2 separate regions of the Homo sapiens genome follow, and region 2 is linked to region 1. Evidence: promoter capture Hi-C in 16 types of primary human blood cells and fetal thymus (Javierre and others, 2016). All regions are on one chromosome and are shown on one strand. The core of a region is centred on a gene start or on the middle of the fragment in contact, and the rest is flanking DNA. Distances in the headings are between cores, read along the strand shown.

Region 1 (7,326 bases), core at 2,356-4,855:
AATACCATGTGAAAGGGATAACTCTTTTGGTATATTCTCTGGCAAATATACTTTTCTGAGAAGCTTCTCCCCACAGTAATTCTCAGAAGCTCTGCCAATGTTCCTCTCCTGCATTCCCTCCCTAAATTCAGAATTATCTGAGCTGGTCACTAGCACCTTTCTTGATGCTTTGGAAACAGAGATGCTCCTGAGTGCCCATAAGAATGGTCAGCCCAGTGAGAAAGCTCATCACTTGGTCTCCTTTAAGGCCAGTTGGCTGCCTAACAATTTTTTAAATAAGAGGAGCCACTATTAAATTTTTGTTCAAAGAGCACACTTGATGCATGAGGACAGGGCCCATATCTGTATTTTTCTCTACTGTATTTCCAGCCTAGAGTTGACAAACAGTAGATGCTCAGTACATTTGTTGGCTAGATAGATAACTTGATGGATGGCTGGCTGGCTGGCTGGCTGGATGGATGGATGGATGGATGGGAGAATTATGAAATCATGAAGCTCCTTCTGGCCCTGACAGGCATGGTCATTCTTCTCTTTTCTGCCTGAGAGTAGGTGGAATAGGAGATCTGTATTACTCCATGGCTTCTCTTGCTTCAGTTCCTACGTTGCCAACCTCACATGAGGAGAATCCTACACATGTTTAAAAACTGGCAATCATATCACTGTCTCATATTTCTGTTATCACTTCTGGGAGTTTCTTCAAATATTCTCTCCTCTGAATAACACTTCTTTTTTGTTAAGGGAAAATGTCTATATAAGTGTCTTTCATAATTATCTAAAATCTAATTAGAATTTAGAGTTTCATGTGGTCTCGTCTTGACAAGATATCCCAATTAAGAAAATGCAAACTAGCTGGCAAAATTAATTTGTTCAAATTTCAATATTTTCTGAAAATTTTCAGACAGTATTCTGCAATCTCAAACAATGCTATTCCTAACCAAAGCAACTTTTATTTCTCTGTTCCCATGTCTCGCTTTTAATATGTCTCACCTTCTACAACTGCCTCCGTTTTTCTCTGTCACTCAGTCTCTACCTAAAACTCACCCAGCAAACCAAATTGGTAAGGCTCTTCTCATTTCCCCTTCTCCGTTTTTTTTTTTTTCCTACTTCCATTCTTTTCTTCTGTCTTCTCTCAGATGAGTCAATCTTGGTCCTTTCTAATGCAAAGCTCCCATCCCTGCTTCATGCGTTAGTCCAAGTCCTCATCATAAAAACATATGACTGGAGTTGGCATTCACAAAGTTGTCTTTGAAATGGGGAGTAAGGTGACAGAGGAGAAAAAGAAGAGCTCTGGATTCTCAGACATGTTAATAATTTTTACATATCATATATAAATGGGATTTTGCAGAGAAGAACCAGAAATAGATGGGAGAGCAATGGACAGGAAAGGCAGATGAGGGACCGAAGAGACACAGCTCCCAAAAGAAAGTTAGCCTTACAAAAACCAAGACGATAAAGAGAAATGCTTAAGTTTAGGGAATCCAGTGGAAGCAGTGATTTAAGGTGAACAAAAGGTGAACCTTAAGTTGAAATGAGAAGTGTAGGATTTTCAAGTTTAGTTTCTGGGAGTGTAAAAATAAAAAAACAATTGTGATGTCAGAGGTTGAAAGATTATAGTTGTCATTTGAACTTGGGGATAAAGGAGACATCTATGACTTGGCTGGAAAAGACAGAGCTAATGTACATTGCAAAGCACATATTTATAGCAGGAAAATGGGAAGATTTCTCTTTAATTCTGGAGATGGAGTGGGGATGGGGAGAGTAGACTACTCATTTTAAGGGTGAAACATTGGAATTCAACTTGTTTGATGTTATATTAATTGGTGGTTAATTACTAAGCTAAGTACGTATAAAACTTTTATCTATGGCTAGCTTGTCCCCCCAAAGTCATGCAATATAGTGAACTGGCTTTCGCACTTTAAATTATTCATTGATCATGTAATGATTCAGATGATTCATCTTCCAAGATGGACACTGAAACTAACACTCATAGTAGGTTGTGGTTTAAAGAGTGGAACAACCGCCAGTCTCATTAGTGGAAATTGTGATGGTTGAATTTATCAAGGATGAACATACACGGTCTTCTTTCTGAGATTTTCTTTAAGATTTTCGCACAGATAATCTATTTCTTAGGTTTTGGAGAGAAAACTTGAATTTTATTGATCCCTCAGAACTCAATCTTTCAGATTTCAAAGGAGCTATTTCTTTTAATGGGGACTCTGTTAATATTTATAAAAGCTCTTCACAGGATGGAGGGTGGGAGGGAAACTCCATCCCAACAAGACAAAAAGAATGAAGCATGAGGCTCCACCTAGTTCATCACTGCTCCTTGAAATACATCAGTATTGAAAGACACATCCACCCCACCCCCAACCCAGCCCTATTGCTGTTCCAGCTCAAGAGTCAGAGGTCCCGAAGCTGTAGCTCTTCTACAATCTGCTGCTCTGTGACTTCAAGTCTGTTGTCTGCAAAGAAAACTATTGGGTTCCCAAGCAAGAGAGGCACATCTGGTAGGACAGATTTTGTGATTGCAAAAGAAGGGGGAAAAAAAGAAAGAAAGAAAAGACCTCTCTATACAAGATAACCAGAGGCATCAAACTGAAATCCTCCTGTGGAAAATAAGCTAGTACTTCTGGGCCTGATGGTGTAGTGAAAACCTGTGCTTGAGGATACATTACAGTGAAAGAGCAAAGTGAATAGTAAGTAGCTATTACTTACCTCCTTAGGGAGGTGTGTTGTTTGTCTGTACATCCCCCACAGCACCTAGCACAGTACCTTGCATCTCACCTGCCACTCACTAAAAAGTCTATCAAGTTAGTTAATTATCGAGACAACGCCCTCAGAAATGAGAGAACAGTACCCTCTTATCCTTGCTGCACTTTCCAGCACTGATACGCTGCCTAAAAGAGGACTAGGGCACAGGTTTGAATTAATGTCACAAAACTGGATGGGCAAGTTACAACGGTGTTGATTAAGGAAACAGAACTCATGGTGCACCGGATATCTCCATCCTGATGAACCCTTGGAAAAATGCCAAAGATGCATATCCCCAGGCAAATGCCTGATTAGTCTGGGATTGATAGATTGGTCTAGGATTCAGCCCTACTGGGAAGATGTCTAAATTATAATCAGTGTAGAAAGCGAAGTTCTCCTAGAAGAAGAGGCAAAGGTTAAAAAGAAGAAAAGAAAAGAAAGTGAAGTCCTTTCTCCCCCAAAACCTCTCATCAATCAATCAGGGTAACAAACAGAACACTAGGGCTCTGTCTGTGGACCAAACCCAAAAGCCCTGCGGTCAGGGCCAGGAGGGTAGATCATGTGTTTGTGGCAACTTCCTCTGTGGGCTTTTGCCCAGGTCTGTCCCCAAGCATACGATGGCCAAAACTTCTGCACCAGAGCAGCATCCTGTGTAACACAGTCAGGTCCAGCAGTTAGGGAAAACTGCCCACTCAGAGTAGATAATATCTGGAAGGAATGACTGTTTGGGAAAAGTTCCAATGCTAGTTCAGTGCCAACCCTTCCCCACCTTCTCCAGCTCTCTCCCACTGGTTCCTCCCCTCTCAACTGCTCTGGTTCTTATAAAAACCTCACAGCCTTCCACTAACATCCCGTAGGAGCCTCTCTCCCTACTGCTGCTACACAAGACCCTGAGACTGACCTGCAGGACGAAACCATGAAGAGCCTGATCCTTCTTGCCATCCTGGCCGCCTTAGCGGTAGTAACTTTGTGTTATGGTGAGAAACTTTTCTCCCATTTCTCTGTGTTTACTTTTCTGCCTCTGACTTTGGCTTACTTCTATTTTTCCTCTCCCTCCTCCTCTTCTTCCCCCTTTCTCTGTTATAATCTTAAAGTACCATTACTTTCACATTTCCCAGTCTCCGCAGAAACTGATCTGTTCTATTAAGTCTTTTTTATATCCTAAATATCCAGAGTCTTATGCAACTTAACAGGCAAACCCGTTCAGTGGTAAGTCTCTGTATATCTAGAAACTCATATTTCAGAAAGAAGATACCAAATTCCCAGCCCCCTGCATCCTCATTTTTAAGGATATTTATTTAGACTTTGGTATCAATGGGTTAAGGGTATTGTTTAAACCACTTGCCTTTGAGAAAATCCATTTTTATGTGAAGTATTAAGTATAGCCCTTTCTAGGGACTGGACAATCTCATGAACTTACTATGTTTGTTCAGTTAATTAATTTTAAAATAAAGTTTTACATCAAAAGAATTTTAGAAAAGAATCATTTTCATAACTCCTGTTGTCAGAAAATAAATTTTGCCTGTTTTCTATATGTCATTAAATATACCTGCATTTGTTCAAAGCTTATAAAAGGAAATCTGAAGCAAAGTTATTTACTTATTTCAGTCTTTTGTTTCAATTACCTAGATATTTTCATTGTTTTAAAATTTAAATTACATTAACAACCATAAAGATTATGCTTCTCACTCTTGTATTCACAAATTTTCTGTATTAGAGGATTTGATTTCTTCACCTCCTTTTTAAGTTTTGAAGAAAATTCACTTGCTGGCAAATATTAATAGAAGCTTCTTATTCCAAAATTTATCTGCTGTGCTCAGGAGAGTGGCAGAAAGAAGAAAACTTCGGCTTTGATATCGTTTCAGTTCTCTCTCTGAACTGGCATCGTGCCCAGGGTGAGCTGTCAGCTGGAGCTAGTGGTTTCTGTGGCTGCCAATTTAACACAGGTTCTTAAGAGGCTTTCGGAACCCTCTTAGAAACCTGCCCTAGTAAGCCCAGCAGAGCAACTGCCCTGTAGTTCTCTTGCCTGGAGAAACCTGGCTGTCTTCTGGATCCTTCTTAATCCTCTTTGACCCTGTTCTCAAACAGGCTCTGAATAAATCAGAGAAGAAGGTTCTCTGGAGACTTCTGTACAGCACTTAAAGTGTCTTATTTTGCTTGTCTGAAGACGTCATAGCCCTTGGGAAATTTTAGCTGAAAATGGCCACTCCCTCCTTCAACATCAGAGAAACTAAAATATAGAGATATCCACAGCAAGGCCAGAGCTAGAGAAAAACCTCATAAATCCTAAATTCCTGAAATTTCTAATAACCACACTGCTAAATATATTCTTCATGTTTTTAGACTCTTTCCTCTTCTTCCATCCCTGTATTTAAACTATCACAGTGTCTAAATTGATAAATAATAACATAATGAATCATGGATAAATATTGATATAATGAATCTTTTTTTTTTAATTTCAGAATCACATGAAAGCATGGAATCTTATGAACTTAGTAAGTGAATATTTAACTTCTTTATTCAAATCCCTTGCATTAAAGAACCTCTTCTTATTTTTAAATAAACAAGATGGAAAGATATATAACAGGGAGGGAAAAGGGGGCCTCTTTTGGAAAACTAAAGTAAATTTTTAAATCTAATGACTATAAAAATTGCCAAAGGAGCAATTTTTTAAGTTTGAAGTAGTGCAATATGGGATTTAAGCTACAGGCGACATATTTAGAAGCCATAAAATCTCATTTGGAAATTTTAAATTGGCACCACGTCAACTGCACAGATGGAAAACGAGGAGTAATGACAAATGGTAAAGCACAGAGCTGGACGCCAAGTCAGCTGGGAGACCACAGGCGCCACGTTAAGCTGAGTGCTGTTTTGGTTTTTTTGTGTTTTTCTTTCTTGTTTTTTTTTTTGAGACAGTGTCTCACTCTGTCGCCCAGGCTAGAGTGCAGTGGTGTGATCTCGGCTCGCCGCAACCTCCACCTCCCAGGTTCAGGCAATTCTCATGCCTCAGCCTCCTGAGTAGCTGGGATTACAGGCCCATGACATCATGCCTGGCTAATTTTTGTATTTTTAGTAGAGATGGGGTTTCACCATGTTGTCCAGGCTGGTCTCGAACTCCTGGCCTCAAGTGATCCACCCACCACAGCCTCCCAAAGTGCCGGGATTACAGGCATGAGCCACCACACCCAGCCAGCTGATTGCTGTTGAATAGCTGGATTTATAAAGACTGAGCATAGGAGGAAATGGCACATCACTCTCATTTTTAATTTATTCATTATTTTTATAGTGTTTAAACTGTTCATGTATCGGCAATCTAGTTATGCTTCATAAATCCTCAGGACAGAGAATTTCTCCTCAAAAGGAATTTAAAATCTACCAAGTAGAAATACAGAAATTAAGAAAGGCAAAGTGATCGTCCAAACTCAAAACCAACAAAGCCTATATGACAAGTCTCTAAGACACATGGATTGATTACTGATTTCATTTGATCAGGAAGTTAATGAAATCTACTTTATACTCTCCTTTAATTTTTGCCAATCTCCGTTTATATGAGTTGCATAAGTTAAGGCACTTTCAAATATATTTGTGTCAAGGAATATTCACGGAAATATTTCCAGCTATGTGTCGCTAAAACTGCATTTATTTATTTTCTGTTCTAAGATCCCTTCATTAACAGGAGAAATGCAAATACCTTCATATCCCCTCAGCAGAGATGGAGAGCTAAAGTCCAAGAGAGGTCAGTAACAAAACTTCATGAGGAGTGGTCATTTTTCCCAGTGTAGATCACAGATCTGAATTGGAGTGGGAAACAGCTTTTTCATCATATACATTATTTCTAATTGTATCTTTAAAATCAAAAAACTTAAAAGCAATATTCAGAAAACAACTGAATTATTAGAAAATTATTTGGGGAAAGATCCGGAAAGGAGAAGGAAGGAGGAGAGAAAGGAGGACAGAAAGAAAACTTCTATTTTCATTAAAAAAAAAAAAAAAATCTCCTGTTCTGCCTTCCCTCCCTGGTTTTTTTTTTGGTTGGTTGGTTGGTTTTTCTGAGACAGAGTCTCACTCTGTTGCCCAGACTGGATTATAGTGGCACTATCTCGTGCCTCAGCCTCCCAAGTAGCTGGGATTACAGGCACGTGCTACCATGTCCAGCTATTTTTGCATTTTTTGTAGAGACGGGGTTTTGTCATGTTGGCCAGGCTAGTCTTGAACTCCTGACCTCAAGTGATCCACCCACCTCAGCCTCCCAAAGTGCTGGGATTACAGGCCTGAGCCACCGCACCCAGCCTCTCCCTGTTCTTTAAATATCTCTTAATATAGGGGGGCATGGAGAGAAAGTCTCTCCAATATTTTCTTCTTCTTTTCCATTTTTGTATTTTTCCACTTTATCCTTCTCAATTTTGGCCTCTTCTTCCACTTTCTAGGATCCGAGAACGCTCTAAGCCTGTCCACGAGCTCAATAGGGAAGCCTGTGATGACTACAGACTTTGCGAACGCTACGCCATGGTTTATGGATACAATGCTGCCTATAATCGCTACTTCAGGAAGCGCCGAGGGACCAAATGAGACTGA
Region 2 (7,326 bases), core at 62-2,561, 1.0 Mb before region 1:
CTTAAGGCAAACATTAAAACCTGTACTTAATTAATTTCTCATCACAAAAGTGGTATATCATTGACCCTTTCTCTGTAAGATTATTCCTTTCCAAATCTAGCACACATTCTAGTTTCAAACTGTCCCTCTAAAAAAAGCAAATGAGGCTTCATGTCTCATTAAGGATGGAGAAAAAGAGGTAAATGAAAACCCCATTAATTCTATAGAAAGTAGATTTAAAGTCTTACCAGTTCAACCTCCAATTTCCATATCCTAAAACTCACTGCCTATTTCTCAGGGAATCAATTTTTATTATGACTATAGAGAGCCACCAGGTGGAGCTCTTTTACACACTTTGCCTCTTAATTTCCTACAGTCCACTAATTATTCTGTCACACAGAAAGGTGAGATATAGATCAACAATGATCCATAAATATTTTAATCCATGGAACCTAATGAGAAAATGTATAGATTAGGAGCACTGTTATATTCAAGTAGTACCTTTAAGTATGAACCTTTCTCATTTACTTTCTAATGCCTCATCACCTTATTAGTTCTCAAAGCCCTTTACTAGACCAATGTTCCTATTCTGTCTCCCATCTGTGTCCCACCAGAGAATAGAAAAGTTGTAAGAGTACAAAGAACACAAGGTTTTGGAAAGAGAAAGGCTAGGCAGATCTGGTATTCACTGTGACTTCAGATCTTGGGCAAATAATTCAGTTCTCTCAATCTTGAAAAAGAATAAAATATGAAACCAAAAACATTCTAAAACTTTGAAAACTAGCATTAAATAAAAGTAACAGAAAAGAATATCTTATTTATAAATCACTTGTATTCAAGTAATAAAAACTGAACCATAAGCAATTAAAATAGATTCTACATGGTCCATCACCAAGGTTCCATTTGTGCAACCCAGATGCATCAATGTTCCCCAAGAAACAAAACGTAAAATTGTCTTTTGTTCTTTGGGTGTAATCTAGCAAGCTTCGTTCTTTGGTAAAGCAGGGCAGCTAGAAACAGACAAGAACAAGAAGAGACAGCTTATAGATAAAAATATATATTTATAAAAACTAAACATATTTTTGACCTAAAAGCAAAAACTATTTGGAAAGGCTAAAAGTAGATACTGAGAACCACATGTAACTATGTGAAATACCTGGTCCATCAGATAAATATACATTAACTTCAAATTAATCCCCATGCCTTTCCCTTTCCCTTACTAAGGACTGTTATCATGAAAATGAAAGCAAAACTCAAACTCCAAAACAGAATAAATAAAAAGCTGATAAAAATAACTATCCAATTCAGATTCCTAAAGGTATCCCTGTAATATGCTATACTGATTTTTCCCCCACACACTGTTCTTTACGGAGTCTTAGGAATTCCTAAGTTGGCAAAAAGGAAGACGGGCCAAGTAGATGGGGTTATACACCCACAACATAGTTCAGAAAGAACGGATCTCCTTGCATGTGTTTAGCATATGACTTTGACATAAGATTCCCCCCTCCCTCCCAGCCAATAAAGCCTAAAACTCACTGTACCATAATACATAACATCAGCATAATGATGAACTTTAGTTAAAAGGATAAATTTCTGCATACTTTGTTTACAGATCTATAAAAGCATCTGACCCAAATGGTTAAAACTCCTTTACTTTTTCACTTGTAAGCACCAAGCTTAAGTTAGCTGAAAAATTTACTTTCAACATATATATGTAACATATATATATATATAAATGAGGTGTTAATTACTGGGACTTAACATATGATAAAGGTAACCACATCACTGTAAGGGGACAACTCACCTAATTCTTCTCCACTATTATAATCATACTTATAAAGTTTAAAATCTTCACCGCCTGCAACAAGAAATTCTTTCTCAGGATGAAGAGATGCAGAATTGATGGTTGCAGGAGCTTCAAAGGATTTAATTGGGTCCAAACTGAAAAAAAATTTAAGTAGTATTTACAAATCTTGAATATGGTATAAATAACGAGTTACATTTGAACTGTTCTTAAATTCTGAAACCCAAGGAACAATTAAATACTCATTTACTCAAACATAAACACTGATGTAAAAAAAGCTGTTAGCAAAAAAAAAAAAAAAAAAATCAAATGGATACTATGCCCAAGTGGAGCTCATCTCAGCAATACAAAGACATCTTGATGGAGGGATATCCAGTTTATGCAGTGGATGTCTTCCCGGAAATGAGTGTGTTGGCTAATTAAAACAGTATGAATAATACACTGGGATTTTTGCTCTTAAATAAACTTCACCTGTATTGTTTCATTTTTCTACAACCACATATTATCTTTGTAAACAGAAAAAGTTTTCACAGTAGGTAATTAACATAAAGGATTATTTATATATTATTATTAATTGCTGAAGGTTTAAGCTCCTCAGCAAGATAAACTTTCTATGTCATAAAATATAAACTGCTGAAAACAGTTTCTACTATAAGGCAGTAAAAGACTAACAAAATTTGGGGCTATAGTTATATAATAAAAATCAATGCATAATAACAGCTTCATCTGAAATTCAATTACAGTTTGGACATTAGCTTTTTCAGTTTAACCCTAAAAATCATGAAAGGCCTCCAATACAAAACATTATAGTATCCCAGCTCCTAAATACTTCCCATCATCATATACTTTAAAGCATGTTAATTAAAGTTAGTCATGACTTATGCAGGATCACTACATAGCAACTTGCTGGCTCAAATGCTAGAATATTCAATGGTCCAGAAAATTTCTGCCACCAACATGGGATTTGCCTAACTGCAGGAGTGAGTGAAGAGCATTAATAAACCAATTGATGGCTCCAGGCCATAGTATTCTACTACTATCAGTTTACTGTATGTGTATAAACTCCTTGACATTGCTTAATTGCTCTCCTCCAATTTTACCGCCTTTTCTTTCTCCCAGTTAGCCCTTTAGACACAAGGTTAAGACACTGGTCAAATATCAAAGTGTAATGTGGTATAATCCTTATGGAAATCAATTAAGTGTCATGTATAACTAAGAACTTTAAACTCATTTCTAGCCTTTGAACTGATAATTCTACTTACAGGATCCTATCTACTGTAAAGAAACACTCAGAGATGTGCTAGAACATTCACCGTGGTGCTAAAACAGGGAAACTAACCCATAATTTAGTACAACCTATGATGCAAATACAGTGTATCAAGTAAAAATGTTTTCAAAGAAGTTTTAAATGGCTAACAATATTTTTAAACAAATCAAAATGGTATTCATTATGGTCCTAGTAATTAAAAAAAAAAACACAAATACTGTACACCCACATATATAACATAGAAAAATGGACTAGCAGAAAATATAACTACCATTATCACTCTTGCACCTATGGGTATAATATTGTGGGTACATTTTTTTCAATTATGTTATATATTCCAGTCTTTCTCCAAGAGTATTTACTACATTTAAAGTCGCAAAATTCAAATCTGTTTAAAAAATTCATTAAGTCTGCAAATACTCAGGAACAGAAATAAGATTATTCCTTCTCTAAAACTTTAAGGTGAAAATAAATAGTAGAATCAAGATCACACTGTTTTTTTGTTTTTTGTTTTTTTTGAGACAGAGTCTCACTCTGTTACCCAGGCTGGAATGCAGTGGTGTGACCACAGCTCAAAACAACCTCCACCTCCTGGGATTAAGCAATTCTCCTGCCTCAGCCTCCCAAGTAGCTGGGATTACAGGTACTCACCACCACACCCAGCTAATTTTTCTTCTCTTTGTATTTTTATTTTAGAGACGGGGTTTCACCATGTTGGCCAGGCTGGTCTCAATCCCCTAACCTCAAGTGGTCCGCCCACCTCAGCCTCCCAAGGTGCTAGGATTACAGACGTGAGCCACCACGCCCAGCCCACACTGGTTTTATATAGTAAAAAACATTAATGACAGCACCATTTCAGTAGTTTTTGCTTTTTTTTTTTTTTTTTTTTCAGAGGAGGTTTTGCTTTGTCATCCAGACTGGAGTGCAGTGTCAAGATCACAGCAAAATGCAGCCTCAACCTCCCAGGCTCCAGCAATAGAATACTCACCTCAGCCTCCCAAGCAGCTGGACTACAGGCGTGTGCCACCACACCCAGCTAATTTTATTTTTTGTAGAGATGGGGGTCTCACTGTGTTGCCCAGGCTGATCTCAAGCCATCCTCCCACCTCAGCTTCCCAAGGTACTGCGATTATAGGCATAAGCCACCACTCCTGGCCTCTTTACTTTTAAAAAAAGTAAATACCTTCCCATTTTTAAGTAGCCAAAATGTCTTTTGTTACCTAAAAAAGAAAATGAAAGTATTTCTTGGACATACCTTACTGCACTATGAAAAGCAATAGATCGTCCATAAGTTATAACCAAAATCTCTCCCTCAGGAATATATTCCATACTACTAACAGACATATTAAAATTTAGAGATTTCACTTCTGTCATAGTAGCATGATCCCAAAGTCTGCAAAATAAAGATAAAAATATGATGTTTACTCATGTAAGAAAAAAGTTTATAAATTCTAATTACATCTGCAGATTAGCCAACGAAAGAACAATCACAATTACAGAAAAACAACATTCATTCCAAGTCACAAATTACAGATGATTAAAAAAAATTCTGGGTTTCTATATACAATGTCAAATTATGCATGATAGCTTGTAAGTAAAATCAACTTTAATACCTACATACACTTCCCAATTTGGCAAAACTACATTATTAAGACAAGTTCTAATCTAGTCAATTTCAGCATTGCTATAAATAGTGGTTCTTACACTCTGTTTTTGTGAATCTAGTAATAGCTACACATCTTTCCAAAGAAATATACATCAGGTGTCAGCACACAAGATTTTGTATAGAATTTCAGAGGCTTCATGGTCCCTCCCTTTAACCATTCTGCCCACAGACCCAGGTTAAAAACACCTGCTTATAAGGTATCAGCAATTTAATTTTCTTCTGAATTTTGCTGTCTGTATACACAAGGTGAGCATCCCTTAATTGAAAATACTTGGGACCAGAAAAAAGTTGGATTTCAAACTTTTTCGGATTTTGGAATATTTGCATTAGACACTTACCAACTGAGAATTCCTAACCTGAAAATAGGAAATTCAAAATGCTCCAATGAGCATTTCCTTTAAGCATCAAGTCGGCACTCAAAGTCTCAGATTTCAGAGCGTTTCAAATTTCAGATTTTCAGGTTAGGGATACTCAACCTGTATTAGTAAATAGATAGCTCCAGATAAATGTGACCTGGGTGCAACTTAAATTTTAATGTTCAGAACATTTTTCACACATAATATTAAATGTATTTAAAATATAAGCTCTAAGGTAAAATATTTTGCAAATTTTAAGTTTGTTTTTCTTTTGAGACAGTCTAGCTCTGTCGCCCAGGCTAGAGTGCAATGGCACGATCTCGACTCACCGCAACCTCTGCCTCGCAGGTTCAAGTGATTCTCCTGCCTCGGCCTCCCGAGTAGCTGGGATTATAGGTGTGTGCCACCGCGCTTGGCTAAGTTTTGTAATTTTCATAGAGACAGTATTTCGCCATGTCGGCCAGGCTGGTCTAGTACTCCTGACCTCTAATGATCCACCCGGCTCGCCTCCCAAAGTGCTGAGATTATAGGCGTGAGCCACCATGCCCGGCCTTAAATTGTAAATTATTAAAGAAAAATTACTTACCGAACAGTTTTGTCATCAGCAGAAAGAATCTGTTTATCCTCACTGCACCACAGAGCTTTTTTTATACCAGAAGTATGACCACTAATTTCCTTAGGTTCTTGAGATAAAACAATTTAAAGTACATTTGTTAATATATGATTTTTTAAACTGAACAATATCGGAACAATTATATATTTTTAAAAACACACATTTTAAATTAGACTGCAACTTTTCAAAGCCCAGCCCAATTCAAACTTGATGTTTATATAGAATACAGTTAGTTTTTCTATATTGGAACATAAATTTATCTGCATGACAGGGACCCAAGGAACTACCATGCTTGCTATATGTAGCTGAGTGAATGCACCACTCACTCCCTCTAGGCTAAATTTCTGCACAACTGATAATATTCAAAAGCATTATTGTATAATAAATAAAAAGTATTTTATATTTATTATATGTATAATAAATATAAAAGCATTATTGTATAATTGTATAAGTATAATAAATATAAAAGCATTATTGTATAATATACAATATTTATTTGTACAATAATACAAATATTATTGTATAATATAAAAGCATTATTGTATAATTGTATAAGTATAATAAATATAAAAGCATTATTGTATAATAAATAAAAAGTATATATTTATTATATGTATAATAAAAAGAATTTTATATATAATAAAAAGTATATATTTATTATATGTATAATAAATAAAAAGTATTTTATATATAATAAAAAGTATTTATTATATTATTAATAAAATAATTAACGTGGCATAATTTAATAAGAACACGGACTCAGGAACAAAACAGTTGAATCTGATTGCAGTACTATGGCTAACTCTGGGACGTTTATCCAAGCAGCTATTGATAGTAAATAATGAGAAATAAGGGTTGGAAGGAAAAAAGGGAAATAGAAAGTGGGACAGCAATTCCCAAGAATGTTTCTACACTGTGAGGAAAACATAAAAAAAAAGGAAGGGAGCTTAAATCTGTAGGAGATTATCCTTTCGAAGAACTTCAAAAAACCCTCACTGCTGTCTCTAGGGGCAAAAGCAGACACTGGAGGCAATGCCATTCAACACTATTTTCACCTTTGGGCATGTTACTTAACTTTTTAACTTTATTTCCTCATCTGTAAAATGAGATAACAATGGTTACAAATGCGAATAGGGCTTAACAGATACCCGATACACAGTAAAACCTCATTTTATTTTCTGCTGCCAGCACAGCGAAAGAGCAACTTTCATAAAACAGCTTTGGGAAAGGTAAAGAGCATGAAAAATGTCAACCCAATCCCTGAACTACCTTGCTTTGACCCAATCCCTGAACTACCTTGCTTTGTTGAATGGGTTCATAGAAGAAGTGAGGTCAGAGTCCTTTGCTATGTTTTGGCATAGATTTATCAAAAAAGAAAGGAGAAAAAAACTTCTACATGCAATGGAGAATAAAAAAATCTGCAAATGCGCTTTGTTTCCTCACCTTAAAAATGTTTTCATAACAAATTACTGTAACATTAAAATGTAAAATATTTTAAAAAGTTCTCAGAAATGGAAGGTATCTCAAGAGAATAACCGCTTAATTTCCAATGTGGTTCTGACTCTCTTATTACTCTTTAAAATTTTATAGATTTATGACTACATAAATGTCCACATAATAAAATCTGAAAGATACCAAATA

The links. Contacts are between HindIII fragments. The CHiCAGO score rates a contact against its expected background, and 5 or more counts as called.
Region 2: a fragment that was not itself captured here is called in contact with the fragment with the promoter of MGP in region 1 in 1 of 17 cell types (total CD8 T cells); the score reaches 5.2 in total CD8 T cells.

What each region holds. Positions count from the first base shown.
Region 1 is chr12:14,882,133-14,889,458 of GRCh38, reverse strand. MGP (matrix Gla protein) reads left to right here and starts at 3,605. Exons shown (of 4, transcript NM_000900.5): 1 at 3,605-3,728; 2 at 5,214-5,246; 3 at 6,412-6,487; 4 at 7,179-7,326. The coding sequence starts at 3,668. The coding sequence ends at 7,320. The HindIII fragment of the contact is 4,253 bases long and covers 66-4,318 here.
Region 2 is chr12:15,892,476-15,899,801 of GRCh38, reverse strand. It overlaps STRAP (serine/threonine kinase receptor associated protein), which reads right to left. Exons shown (of 10, transcript NM_007178.4): 5 at 5,659-5,755; 6 at 4,306-4,443; 7 at 1,784-1,920. Among named protein-coding and RNA genes, the nearest start is that of STRAP, 14 kb to the right of the region's middle. The HindIII fragment of the contact is 692 bases long and covers 966-1,657 here.